Regions from separate parts of the Homo sapiens genome. Here region 1 is linked to region 2. The links are contacts of gene promoters, found by promoter capture Hi-C in blood cells and fetal thymus (Javierre and others, 2016). All regions are on one chromosome and are shown on one strand. The core of a region is centred on a gene start or on the middle of the fragment in contact, and the rest is flanking DNA. Distances in the headings are between cores, read along the strand shown. Region 1 overlaps CCM2 (CCM2 scaffold protein). Region 2 holds the start of ZMIZ2 (zinc finger MIZ-type containing 2).

The links. Contacts are between HindIII fragments. The CHiCAGO score rates a contact against its expected background, and 5 or more counts as called.
Region 1: a fragment that was not itself captured here is called in contact with the fragment with the promoter of ZMIZ2 in region 2 in 1 of 17 cell types (monocytes); the score reaches 5.3 in monocytes.

Annotation. Positions count from the first base shown.
Region 1 is chr7:45,023,438-45,029,367 of GRCh38, reverse strand. All of the region lies in intron 1 of CCM2 (CCM2 scaffold protein), which reads right to left. Among named protein-coding and RNA genes, the nearest start is that of CCM2, 26 kb to the right of the region's middle. RefSeq lists enhancers at 1,090-1,159, 1,762-1,811 and a silencer at 2,202-2,271. The HindIII fragment of the contact is 9,674 bases long and covers 1-5,930 here.
Region 2 is chr7:44,745,303-44,751,384 of GRCh38, reverse strand. It overlaps ZMIZ2 (zinc finger MIZ-type containing 2), which reads right to left and starts at 2,538. Exons shown (of 19, transcript NM_031449.4): 1 at 2,394-2,538. RefSeq lists an enhancer at 1-453 and silencers at 2,234-2,283, 2,294-2,403, 2,514-3,043. The HindIII fragment of the contact is 22,932 bases long and covers 1-5,556 here.

The sequences.
Region 1 (5,930 bases), core at 3,062-5,561, 280 kb before region 2:
TTTTCATTTGCGCAAATTATTTAACCCTTATGAATAAACTACAAGGTGGGTTTTATCTAATAAAACAAAACCGCCTCTGAACAAAGATGTTTAAAGTATTATAAAAAGGCCTAGGTATCCTTAAGGCCAACATTCAGTACATCTCATGAGTATTCACTATGCGCCAGACACTGGGGCTGTAGAAGCCACCGTCCCTGCCCCCAGGGAACCCCCAGTCTAAAGAGGGAGACAGACAAACCGCAACTGCACAGCCACATGAGGGCCCAGCAGGAATGAGGGAAAATGACTGGAAGAGGCACCAAACTCAGTGCCTGGGTCTGAGAAGACAGTGGAACCTGGAGCGATGATTCTGTCCAGCTGGACAGTGATAGGCTATAGTCCCAGAGAGACACCTGCCATCCTCATAAATCACACTGCCTAAGGTGCACATCCGAGGCACTACGACAAATCCCCTCCTACAAGCTCCATGACAAAGAACTCCTCTGTGGACACCCACATTGCACCCCTGCCTATGTGAATTTCCACAAACTTCCAGCACTCCCTGCAGTGTCAGTTGACAGATTAGCTTTTTTTTTTTTTAAGTGCTTTGGTGCCTACCAATGGAAAAAGGACCTTTCCTCGGTGCTGGAGAGGTCTAAATGATAAGTATGACACAGCCGGTGTGCACCCGCATCTCAGGACACGGCTAATTTCTTTCTTTTCTTTTTTTTTGAGCCGGAGTTTCACTCTGTCACCCAGGCTGGAGTGCAGTGGCGCAATCTCGGCTGACTGCAACCTCCACCTCCCGGGTTCAAGTGATTCTCCTGCCTCAGCCTCCCAAATAGCTGGGATTACAGGTGCGTGCCGCCACACCCGGCAATTTTTTTGTATTTTTAGTATAGACGGGGTTTCACCATGTTAGTCAGAATGGTCTTGATCTCCTGACCTCCTGATCCACCCACCTCCACCTCCCAAAGTGCTAGGATTACAGGCATAAGCCACTGTACCCGGCTGACAGAGCGAATTTCAAGGGGAACCAGAGCTCTGCCCACTACCGCCTGTTTGCTTCAGTGAGAAAGGCATAGGCACCTTAGTGCCCACAGGAGGCCACACTGGCGGTGGCCAGGATCCATGCTGGTGGAGTCTCAAGCAGAACCCCACTAGTGTTGCAGGCTTCGTGGATGAAATTCCAGCTTTGGGTGCTCTCTTGCTTGGCCATCTCCCTACATCATTTTTCAACCAGGCTCTTGGGTCCCGACCACAAATCCATAGGAAAATTACTTCTCCGTGGAAGATGTAAAACCTGTGGCTTCTTCTTCCTTGAGTCAAGATGGATGAATCCAACAACCTATACTCCCCACCTGGGTGGAACGGCACTTCTCCATACACGCCCCTTGCCACAGGGTCTCAGACCAGGAAGCCAGCAAATGAACCCTCCACCCACCCCATCCTCCCAAAGCAGGGGTCATGGAGACTGGGCTACCCTAGCTCACAATGGGCAAGCCCTGGGAAGCAGCCATGAAAGCCACCCACAAGGGACTCACACCATCATCATTCTAAATGGCGCTTTCCACACTGGACTTGCACCTACCTCATTCTCCATGGAATACCCTGTGTGAAATTCTGTTTGAGGAATTTCTTTGGAGAGATTCTGGTTCCTCCTCTGCCGACAGCTACTATGCATTCTCTACTCACTTCTGAATTTGTTGAAAAATATGGCCAGATGTTAGCCCTCCCTCTGAAAAAAACATGACTGAACAGGAAGACCAGAAACCACAGCTTCCTTCTGCAAAGCCACTGAAGCTGTTTACAATTTTTTAAAAGTTTAAAAAGCAGGCAGCACCCAGAAACTGTTGGCAAAATCCAAACAGTCTGCATGCACAAAAAGACACAAAGTAAACCAGCTCATTTTCCCTACTTCCCACAGCACGCGAACCCCACAAGCAGCCTCCCTGCATTTCCAGCAGAAATTCTGCAGTCAACAGAAGGACATTAATTTCAAAGTCCACCATTCTGCACATTCAAATGCCAAAGCTAAACAAGCAGACAGAAAGCACTGTGAGGGGCTACCATTTCCTGGAGACAACAGGCCGTGCTGTTGGTGAAGACCCATGGTACCTGCCTCATACGAAGGGTGGAAACACGCGACAAGGCTGTTCCAGTTACCCCATTTGCAGTGCTTGCTCAAAGGCAGCAAGATCTTTACAGAGATAACTCCATTCCCAGGTGGGGCTTGGGCAGGGCACACCGGGCTCTACGGGTCCTCAGCCTACAAGTGCCTCTACCTGCCTCCAGGACTCATGAGTTTGAGTCAGCAGCACTTTGAAATTAAACAGCGTGCCTCTGGCCAAGCTCACTTCTTCAAGGCAAATTTCCTAATCTAGAAAAGCAGAAGTTGGATCTGTTGCTGGTGAAGGCTCTTAGAACTCTGATAATTCCAGAATGGCTTGCAAATAGGGAGGGCTACTTAATTAAATATTCTGGTTGGCTGGGTGCGGTGGCTCATGTCTGTAATCCCAGCACTTTAGAAGGCTGAGGCAGGTGGATCACCTGAGGTAAGAAGTTCGACACCAGCCTGGCCAACACGGTGAAACCCCGTCTCTACTGAAAGTAGAAAAATTAGCCGGGCGTGGTGATGGGCACCTGTTATCCCAGCTACTTGGGAGGCTGAGGCAGGAGAATCGCTTGAACCTGGGAGGCAGAGGTTCCAGTAAGAAAAGATAGCACCATTGCACTCCAGCCTGGGTAACAGAGTGAGACTCCATCTCAAAAAAAAAAAAAAAAAAAAAAATCTGGTTAGAGTGACTATATTCACAGATCAATAAATAAACATAACAATTACAATATAATTTTTTAAATATTAGGTTGAACCAAATCAAAGTGCTGATTTTCAACAGTGTTTTGGCTATAAAAATGGTACTTTCATACAATTCTATTTCATTAACCTGTAACAAATAAAGTTTAATATTTCCTGATTCCAAAAAGACTGATTGCTTCAGAATAAAATTTAGTGCTTCAATTATTATTCCATATACCACAGATGTAGAAACTGTCATAAAGTTGGAAAAGCAGCATCAGAACTAGATTTGAGTCAATATCCGGTATTAACTGGACTGTCACTTTCTGTCTTTAAAAACCAGAGTAGAGTCACAATTTCAGATTGCTCCTTCCTAAAAGTTGCCTATACAGGGCAGAACCAGCTGACCCTGACCTTCAGGTAGGCTCAAAGGGAAAAAGGCAAACCAGGAGGGAGATACAGAAAGAGGTGCCACTCAGCTGAGCAGCCTCACCTCTATTTTGGCTACTGCAGGGAGGGGAAGGATTCCAGGGAAATAGACATGACTAAAAAGAAAACCCACATGCTCTGAACACTAGTCAACCCCAACCTTCCCTCACAAACACAGTGATCCCCACGGTCAGCATGAGAGAGAAAAGCCAAAGAACAAATGGGAAGAGACAGGCACAGGAACCTACATTCTAGCTAGTATACTTAGAGACACTTGAGAAGAACTGCATCCATAAAATAAGACTAGATAGCTATGAAAAAGAGAAAACGGCCGGGTGCAGTGGCTCCCGCCTGTAATCCCAGCGTTTTGGAAGGCTGAGGTGGGCAGATCACCTGAGGTTAGAAGTTTGAGACCAGACTGACCAATATGGAGAAACCCCGTCTCTACCAAAAACACAAAATTAGCTGGGCGTGATGGCGCATGCCTGTTAATCCCAGCTATTCGGGAGGCTGAAGCACGAGAATCACTTGAACCCAGGAGGCGGAGGTTGCGGTGAGGTGAGATCACGCCATTGCACTCCAGCCTGGGCAACAAGAGTGAAACTCCATCTCAAAAAAAAAAAAAAAAGAAAAAGAGAGAACAGAGAACAAGAAATATATCTTAGAAATTACAAATATGACTGCCAAAATAAAAAATTCGTAGAATAATAACAAGGACATAGCGGAGAGCCCAAAGAATGATGTGAAGGAGAACTGCGGGGTTGGCCAATGCCTGCCTGCTGCTGATGGCCACAGCTGCAAATGTTTTACAGATGAACATTTGCCACCAATTCGATAAAGGGAATCACCAACTTTGAACCCTGATTAAGCAAAATGTTAGCCCCCAAAAAGAATTCCATTCTCAGTAGTAGAACCATATTACAAAAAATTGTACTCAATTATTATACCTTGAATTTCATCAATAAAAAAATTTACGAAAATTTGCTTTCTCTCTTATATAAGTACCTACTTAATGGCCTCAATTTTGCCCCCTGGCCCACACAGCCTGAAATATTTACTGTCTGGTCCTTTACATGAAGTTTGCCAACCCTGTCTTAGAACATAAAGTGAAAAGGTAAAAAGTTTAACATGAGAAAAATTAAAGGCCACAGAAGCTGGGTCCATCGAGTCTAACAGTTTCCTAAGAGGAGAATAAGAGCAGGCAGAATCAAAGAGGGACACAAATATCAGAAGACAACAACGATGAACTCAATTTTATGGACAGAAAAAGCACAGTAACAAGTAGGCTGAATGTAAGAGACAAACCCTCAACATTTAGACTCATCTTCACAAAACTGCAGAATTTCAAGAGAATCTTAGGTTTCCAATAAGAAAATGCAAAAAAAAGTACCTGTAAAAGCAGTAAGACTCAGATCAGCATCAGATGTATCCTGATAAATGGGAATATGGTAATCCCTTTAAAATTCTGTGTGGAAATTAATTTAAATCTGGAAGTTAATTTAAAACCAAACTGTCAATCAAGGTGCAAAATAGTTATTTTCACACCTGCAGTGCCTTGGGATCTTTACACTCTAAAAACCCCCTTTTGAAAAACATACTAGAGGATCTACTCCCAGCAAAACGAGGATCATCCAAGAGAGAAAAAGATGTGGACTCCAAGAAACAGTGGAACCAACCCAGGAAGCAGAGAAAAGAAATCCCAGGGTGACAATGACAGTGTTCAGCAAGCAAACAAAGGAAAATCTGTAAGATTCCATTATGTAAACTAAGAGCCTAGAAGTTCTTGACGATAAAAACATGTTTCTTGGGCCTTGACTAAGGGCTGGCCTGGACATGCAGAGATGAAACTCCACAATGCCTACAGGTAATCATTTAATGTTTGACTGACTGCTGAATGGTGATGCCAGAAGTTATTATCAGCTGAAGAGTCTTTCCTGAACATTATAATCAGCTGAAGAGACTTTGCTGAACTGGCTACTCAGTAGAAATCCAAAAAGTCCACACTTTAGGTGTAAGGAAAACACCCAGAACTAAATTCAAAACTGATACAGAGGCCGGGTGCGGTGGCTCATGCCTGTAATCCCAGCACTTTGGGAGGCCAAGGCAGGAGGATCACCTGATGTCGGGAATTCGAGACCAGCCTGACCAGCATGGAGAAACCCCCAACTCTACTAAAAATACAAAATTAGCAGGGCGTGGTGGCACATGTCTGTAACCCCAGCTACTACGGAGACTGAGGCAGGAGGATCACTTGAACCTGGGAGGCAGAGGTTGCAGTGAGCCAAGATTGTGCCATTGCACTCCAGCCTGGGCAACAAGAGCAAAACTCTGTCTCATAAAAAAAAAAAAAAAAAAAAAAAAAAAAAAAAAAAAAACTGATACAGAGCTATCAAAATAATGACTAAACAAAGATGCACACGACAAAAAAAAAAAAAAAAAGATTTCCCAGTAATCTCACTGCCTACCATAATAAAACTGAATCTCATTCACAATAACAAGGCATTCTCTAGAAAAAGGCTGAGTAAACTCTACCACACAGGCAAGCCACCTGTTTTTGTAAATAAAGTGGGGTTTTCTTGTGTTTTGTTGTTGTTTTTGTTAGTTTTGTTTTTTGAGACGGAGTCTCACTCTGTCATCCAGGCTGGAGTCCAGTGGCACGATCTCAGCTCACTGCAACCTCCACCTCCCAAGTTCAAGCGATTCTCCCGCCTCAGGCTTCCAAGTA
Region 2 (6,082 bases), core at 1,289-3,788:
CTGGTGATGACAGGCTGCCCAGCCCCACCTGAAGTCAGTAGGATGGGCTGGGGCCTAAGCCCAGAATTTCTAACAAGTTTGCAGCTACTGCTGCTGCTGGTCCAGGAACTGTAGTTTGAGAACCTCAGATCTAGGAAATGCAGTGAGCTGGGGAGAAGGAGCACAGGGCAGGTACAAGGAGGGGAGGAGCCCACAGCAGGCTCCTATGTCACATGAGCCTGGGGAATTCCACCCCTGATGGTTCTCTGCTGTGGACAGAGACCACAAAGATTTCCAGTTCCCTCTGAGCTTACTCTTCACTGCACAGGGGGATTTCCTGCCGACCCGAACTCATGCCTCTGGTCTCCTCTCTGAGGACAGTCTCTCTGAAAAGACTTCCAGTCTCCAGGTCTGGTATCCTTGACCCTGTGCCCCTGATGATAGGATAGTGTTCTGCGTTGTGTGTGTGCAGATCCTCTTCTCATCTCCTGGCTTTGAGTCTGGGTTGGGAACAAGCCTGGAGCCTGGAATCTGGATCCCAGATCATGCAAGGCCCATGCCCACCAAGGGTCTTAGTGCCTGGCGCTTTCCTTGTAAACTAACTCCAGCTGGAAGCTAGGACCCCTTGAGAGATGGACAAGGTCAGTCTAGAGGGCCACAAGGCTTTCTCGGGGGTCAGATCACATCTTCCTCTAGACAGAGTTACAGAACTCACTACCCCAGACCTCTCTTCCCCAAATGTCCCAGAGTAGCTGCACCCCCAAGTCTCCTGGTTGACCTCCTGAGCCTTGTTCCATGCCACCTCTCTGCCTGCCTAGTCAGCTAGGAGCAGGACCAGCAAGTGGGCCCTGTGGCAGGCAACGCTTCTCAATAGGTCACACATCAGGACTCACTGTCTCCAAGATTGCAGGGTCAGGATCCAACCCAGGTGACAATGGAGTCAAAGGGTATTGAAGAAATGATGGCTGTGGAATGTTGCAGGAGCGGGGTCCTTGGTAGCAAAAAGTGGGGTACTCACATATACAGGTAGCTGAAAGTCCTGCCCCCTCTACCTGTAAGGCCACAGTACTAAAATGTCTAAGCGTGGGGCTAAGTCAGGATGCAGAGTTCATCAAAAAGTCCAGGAATAAGCAATGGCCCAGGCATGAGACATTTCAGTGAACAGCTGAAGGGACAACCTTAACCTGGCATCAGTTTACAATGTGTAAGATGGATATCTGGTAGCATCCTAGGACTGAGGACACATGACCACCTTCATGTCATCAGCCCTTGGGAGCTCAATCCCAATAATCAGGATGCTCCCCAAACATCTTAGGCCTGTCCTTCAGAAATCTACAACCGGCAACTGTCACCTGCTTGTTCTCTTCATTTACACTTCCAGCTTGTAACTATCCCCTGGGCATGACAAGGGCTAGAGGTCAGTACCTCTGGAAGTTAAGATTCCTTCACTTCTCCTGTTTCCACACTAAGCATCAAGGGATGCCCTCTGGTTCTAGCTTGCCAGAACTTGGTGGTGAGTCTGTGTCCATCCTATCCGTAATCACCACGGTCTCAGACCAAGTCACATGTTCCGTGTGTGTCCCTGTGAAATCTGCGATGACACAAATTAAAGACACCACCATGGATGTTCTGTAATACTGGAAAGAGGGTACCCTAGGGAGAAGGAGAGGCAGAACACTGCAGGGCAGAGGGTCCAGGGAATGGGAGGAGAGACACGGTAGGTGGAGGGGTAAACAAGGCACCGGGTGGGGGTGCCGCGGTGAAGGACACCTGGCACTAGGGAAGACAAGGCACCTCAGGGGAGCAGGGCATCCTCACGCCTGAGCTTCAGTATGTCCAGTTTGGAAAGGGGTGTCCCCATCAAAACTGGCAGCTGGGGGCTGGCCGCTCAGCGTCGTTCAGCCCAGGAGCGGAACAGCTCCTCCGCGAGCAGGTGACGGCCTCAGACGGCCCCCACATCGCCGTGCTGGTGGGCACGTAAGTAGGAGCGGAGGGGCGTACCATGTAGGTGAGACTGCCTGGCCCCAAAGCTAGGAACGATCAGGTTGGAGCGAAGGCCCGGCCAGCCTTCATCGCTCAGGAGAACCCCGAGCGCCGCTTACACCCCTCGGCCAGCCTCCAACAAAGACTCAGGGGAGGGCTGGATGACCCTGACGCCCACGGGGCCGAGCCTGCCCAAGACCACGACGCACGCGTGGCAGGTGCCGGCAGGTGGGCGGCAGAGCCTCTAGCCCCAGCCCAGCTGTGAACCCTACCGTGGCGCCGCAGCGGAACCGGGGCGCCCCGGGCGACCAGCTACACCTGCCTGCCCGCCCGCACCTGCCGGCCCGCACCTGCCGCACCTGCCTGCCCCCGCCGGCCCACACCTGCCTGCTGGCGGCGTTGCCAGGGGCCACCCCCAGGACCCCGCTCACCTCCGCCCGGCCTGGCCCGGCCCCTCGCCGTGGCGGCCCCCGGCCCGCGCCGCTCCATGCGCTCAGCCCGCCCTCCGCGCCGCCCGCCGCCCCGGGGCCGCCGCCACCCGCGCCATCGCGCCGCCGCCCGCTCCGAGGGCACAATGGAGCCGCCGCCGCGCCGCTCATGCATATGCATGACGCCGCGCAGCCGGCCCCGCCTCCCAGGCCAGAGCAGCAGAGCCCCGAGCCGGCGCTCGGGGCGGGGGCGGCCGCGAGCCCGAGCGGCCCAAAGCGGCAGGGTGGGGCCAGGGCCGCAGGTGGCTGGGCGGGCAGGAGACGCAGCCTGATCGCGACCTGCGCCCCCAGCCCCCTCCACACCTTTCTGAACGCGGCGTCGGCAGAGCCACTGCGCTCTTCCTGCTCGCAGTCCGCCGGGAGCGGGGCGGGGCCGGGCGGCGGAGGCGGGGCCAGGACGCCGGGGCGGGGCCGAGTGGAAGGCGGGGCCAAGGTGCCGGGGCGGGGTCGGGAGGAGGAGGCGGATCCAGAGAGCCGGGGTGGGGCCAGGGCTCGGGGCGGGCCCCGGCGGAGGAGGAAAGGAAGAGTGAGTCCTTGCCCTTCCCCCACCCGCCCCGCCCGCGCCCCGCCCGCGCCCCCCCTGCTTCCTGGGAGTCCATTGCTCTGGCCCGGCGGGCGGGGACACGACTGGGAGACAGAGAGACCCAGGGTGCCACTTTTGGGAGGGGATCTTATTAAAGGACTCCGGAAGCCCCTCGTTAAAGCAGAAAACTAAACTTAACAAGTTCGCTGTCCTCACTGCTCAGTTCTCTCTTCCCAGTGGTTCTCCTTCTGGAAAAAGTCACTATTGAGCTAGTCTAGCCTGATGGAATAGCCTCTCTGATCAGTTTCGATCTTTGAAATGCTATTATCAGCCTTTAAGTTATTCTTGACTTTTCCTACCGTAAGTTGAGGAAGACCACATTCTCTCAACTACCCATAATTAATTTTTCTTAATTGTGGTAAAATACACATAACGTAAAACTTACCATCTTAACTGTTTCCAAGTGTAGTTCTGTGGCACCAAGTACATTCACATTCTTGTGCAACCACCAACCGTCTCCAGGACTTTTTCATCTTCTCAAATGGAAACTCCATACCCAGTAAACACTAGCTCCCCATTCTTTCCTCCTCCTAGCCTTTGGCATTCACTATTCGTCTCTAAATTAGACTACTCTAAGGACATCGTATAAGTGGAATCATACATTATATGTCTTTTTGTGACAGTCTTACTTTAGTTAGCACAGTGTCCTCACTTCCATCCATGTTGTGGCATGTGTCAGAATTTCTTTCTTTCTTTCTTTCTTTCTTTCTTTCTTTCTTTCTTTCTTTCTTTCCTTTCTCTCTCTCTTTCTTTCTTTCTTTCTTTCCTTCCTTCTTTCCTTCCTTCTTCCCTCCCCTTCCCTTCCCTTCTTTTTTTTGACGGAGTCTCACTCTGTCGCCAGGCTGGAGTGCAGTGGTGCAATCTCGGCTCACTGCAACCTCCACCTCCCAGGTTCAAGCGATTCCCCTGCCTCAGCCTCCTGAGTAGCTGAGACTACAGGGGCACGCCACCACGCCTGGCTAATTTTTTTGTGTGTGTGTTTTAGTAGAGACGGGGTTCATCATGTTGGCCAGGATGGAATCGATCTCCTGACCTCGTGATCCGCCTGCCTGGGCCTCCCAAAGTGTTGGGATTACAGGCGTGAGCCACGGCGCCCAGCCCCTTCTTTCTTATGGCTGAATAATATTCCATTGTATGCATATTCCACATTTAAGTTATCCATTCATCTATCAATGGATACTCCACAATTAATTTTTGACATTGTTGAAATTTCTTCCCTGAAGGCCGCCTCTGAACTCTGTGCTCTATTTCTTTTGGGAATCATTCGTTCATTGAACAAATATGGCAGGCCTGCTGTACAACAGTCCCTGGTCTGGGGTCTGTGAACACTGGTCTGTCCCCAGGAACCAGGAGAATAAGGCCCCTCCATCCATACAGCAAGCATGTTAGAGGGGACAAACAGAAGGAAATGAGTTAACAGGTAACAGTGTGTCTGTCAGAAAGAGTGTTAGGAAGAAAACTAAATCAGGGCCAGAGAATGGGGAGGGAGTGATGAGGTATGAGGGACGGATTCTCTGTGGAGCTGGCCCTGAAGAAGAGACCCAAATGAAGGGGGAGGCAGGCACCAGGGGACCCTGACCATTCCTCTGTCTCGGAAGAGGCTGCATGTATGGGGGAGTTGCAGGCAGGTTTGTGGAGGATGCTGGAAGTGGCCACGCCAAGCATCCCAGGTGCCCCCAGGGCAGGCATCTCTCTCACCTCCTAACTGCTTCAATAATTCCTGCCCTGCTCCCCTGGGAAAGGCCACCTGGTGTCCACTCCTTTCTAGGGAATGTTTTCATTTTCTACTATATGATGAATTGTTAAGAAAGTCTTCCTTGAGGCCGGGCACAGTGGCTCACGCCTGTAATCCTAGCACTTTTGGAGGCCAAGATGGGTGGATCACCTGAGATCAGGAGTTCGAGACCAGCCTGGCCAACATGGTGAAACCCTGTCTCTACTAAAAAATACAAAAATTAGCCAGGCATGGTGGCGTGAAACCCTACTCTACTAAAAATACAAAAATTAGCCAGGTGTGGTGGCATGCACCTGTATTCCCAGCTATTCGGGAGGCGGAGGCAGGAGAATCGCTTGAACCCGAGAGGCAGAGGTTGCAGTGAGCTGAGATCGCACCACTGCACTCCACCGTGGGTGACAGAGCGAGACTCTATCCCCCCACCATCACCCCCCCAAAAAAAAAAGTTGCCTGGCGCGGTGGCTCACGCCTGTAATCCCAGCACTTTGGGAGGCCGAGGCAGGCAGATCACGTGAGGTCAGGAGTTCGAGACCAGCCTGGCCAACATGGTGAAACCCTGTCTCTACTAAAAGTACAAAAATTAGCCGGGCATGGTGGTGTGTACCTGTAGTCCCAGCTACTCGGGAGGCTGAGGCAGGAGAATTGCTGAACCCGGGAGGTGGAGGTTGCAGTGAGCCGAGATCACACCACTGCACTCCAGCCTGGACGACAGAGTGAGATTCTGTCTCAAAAAAAAAAAAAAAAGTCTTCCTCATTTACTAGAATAAAAAAACTGCCTTATTGAAGCTTTTCCTCTACAAGTGCATAAAATAAGAATCATCACTTTGTTATTTGACAGCTCTTCAAATATTAAAAGCAACTTCTCAATCCCCCAGTCTTCTGTTGGAGGAATAATGCTCCCAGTTCCTTAAGTGTTAACAGTAACACAATTTTCAGATCCTGTACCAACTGGCCACTCTCCTTTAGACAGGCACCAGTTAGACAATATCGCTTTTAAAATGTGACACCAGAAAGGGAACCTGATATCCTAAATGTAATCAGCCTAGCCCAGCGTCCAGGGGCTCCTGCGAGTCCACAGTCTCCTACAGTTGGTGTGGCCTTAACCTGAATTTGGTTTTTAACCAGTTTGGGTACCCCCAGTTACTATGACTCTTGACTTGCAAAACTAACTTTAAAAAGAAAAAGGTAGGCCGGGCGCAGTGGCTCACGCCTGTAATCCCAGCACTTTGGGAGGCCGAGGTGGGCGGATCACGAGGTCAGGAGATCGAGACCATCCTGGCTAACATGGTGAAACCCTGTCTCTACTAAAAATAC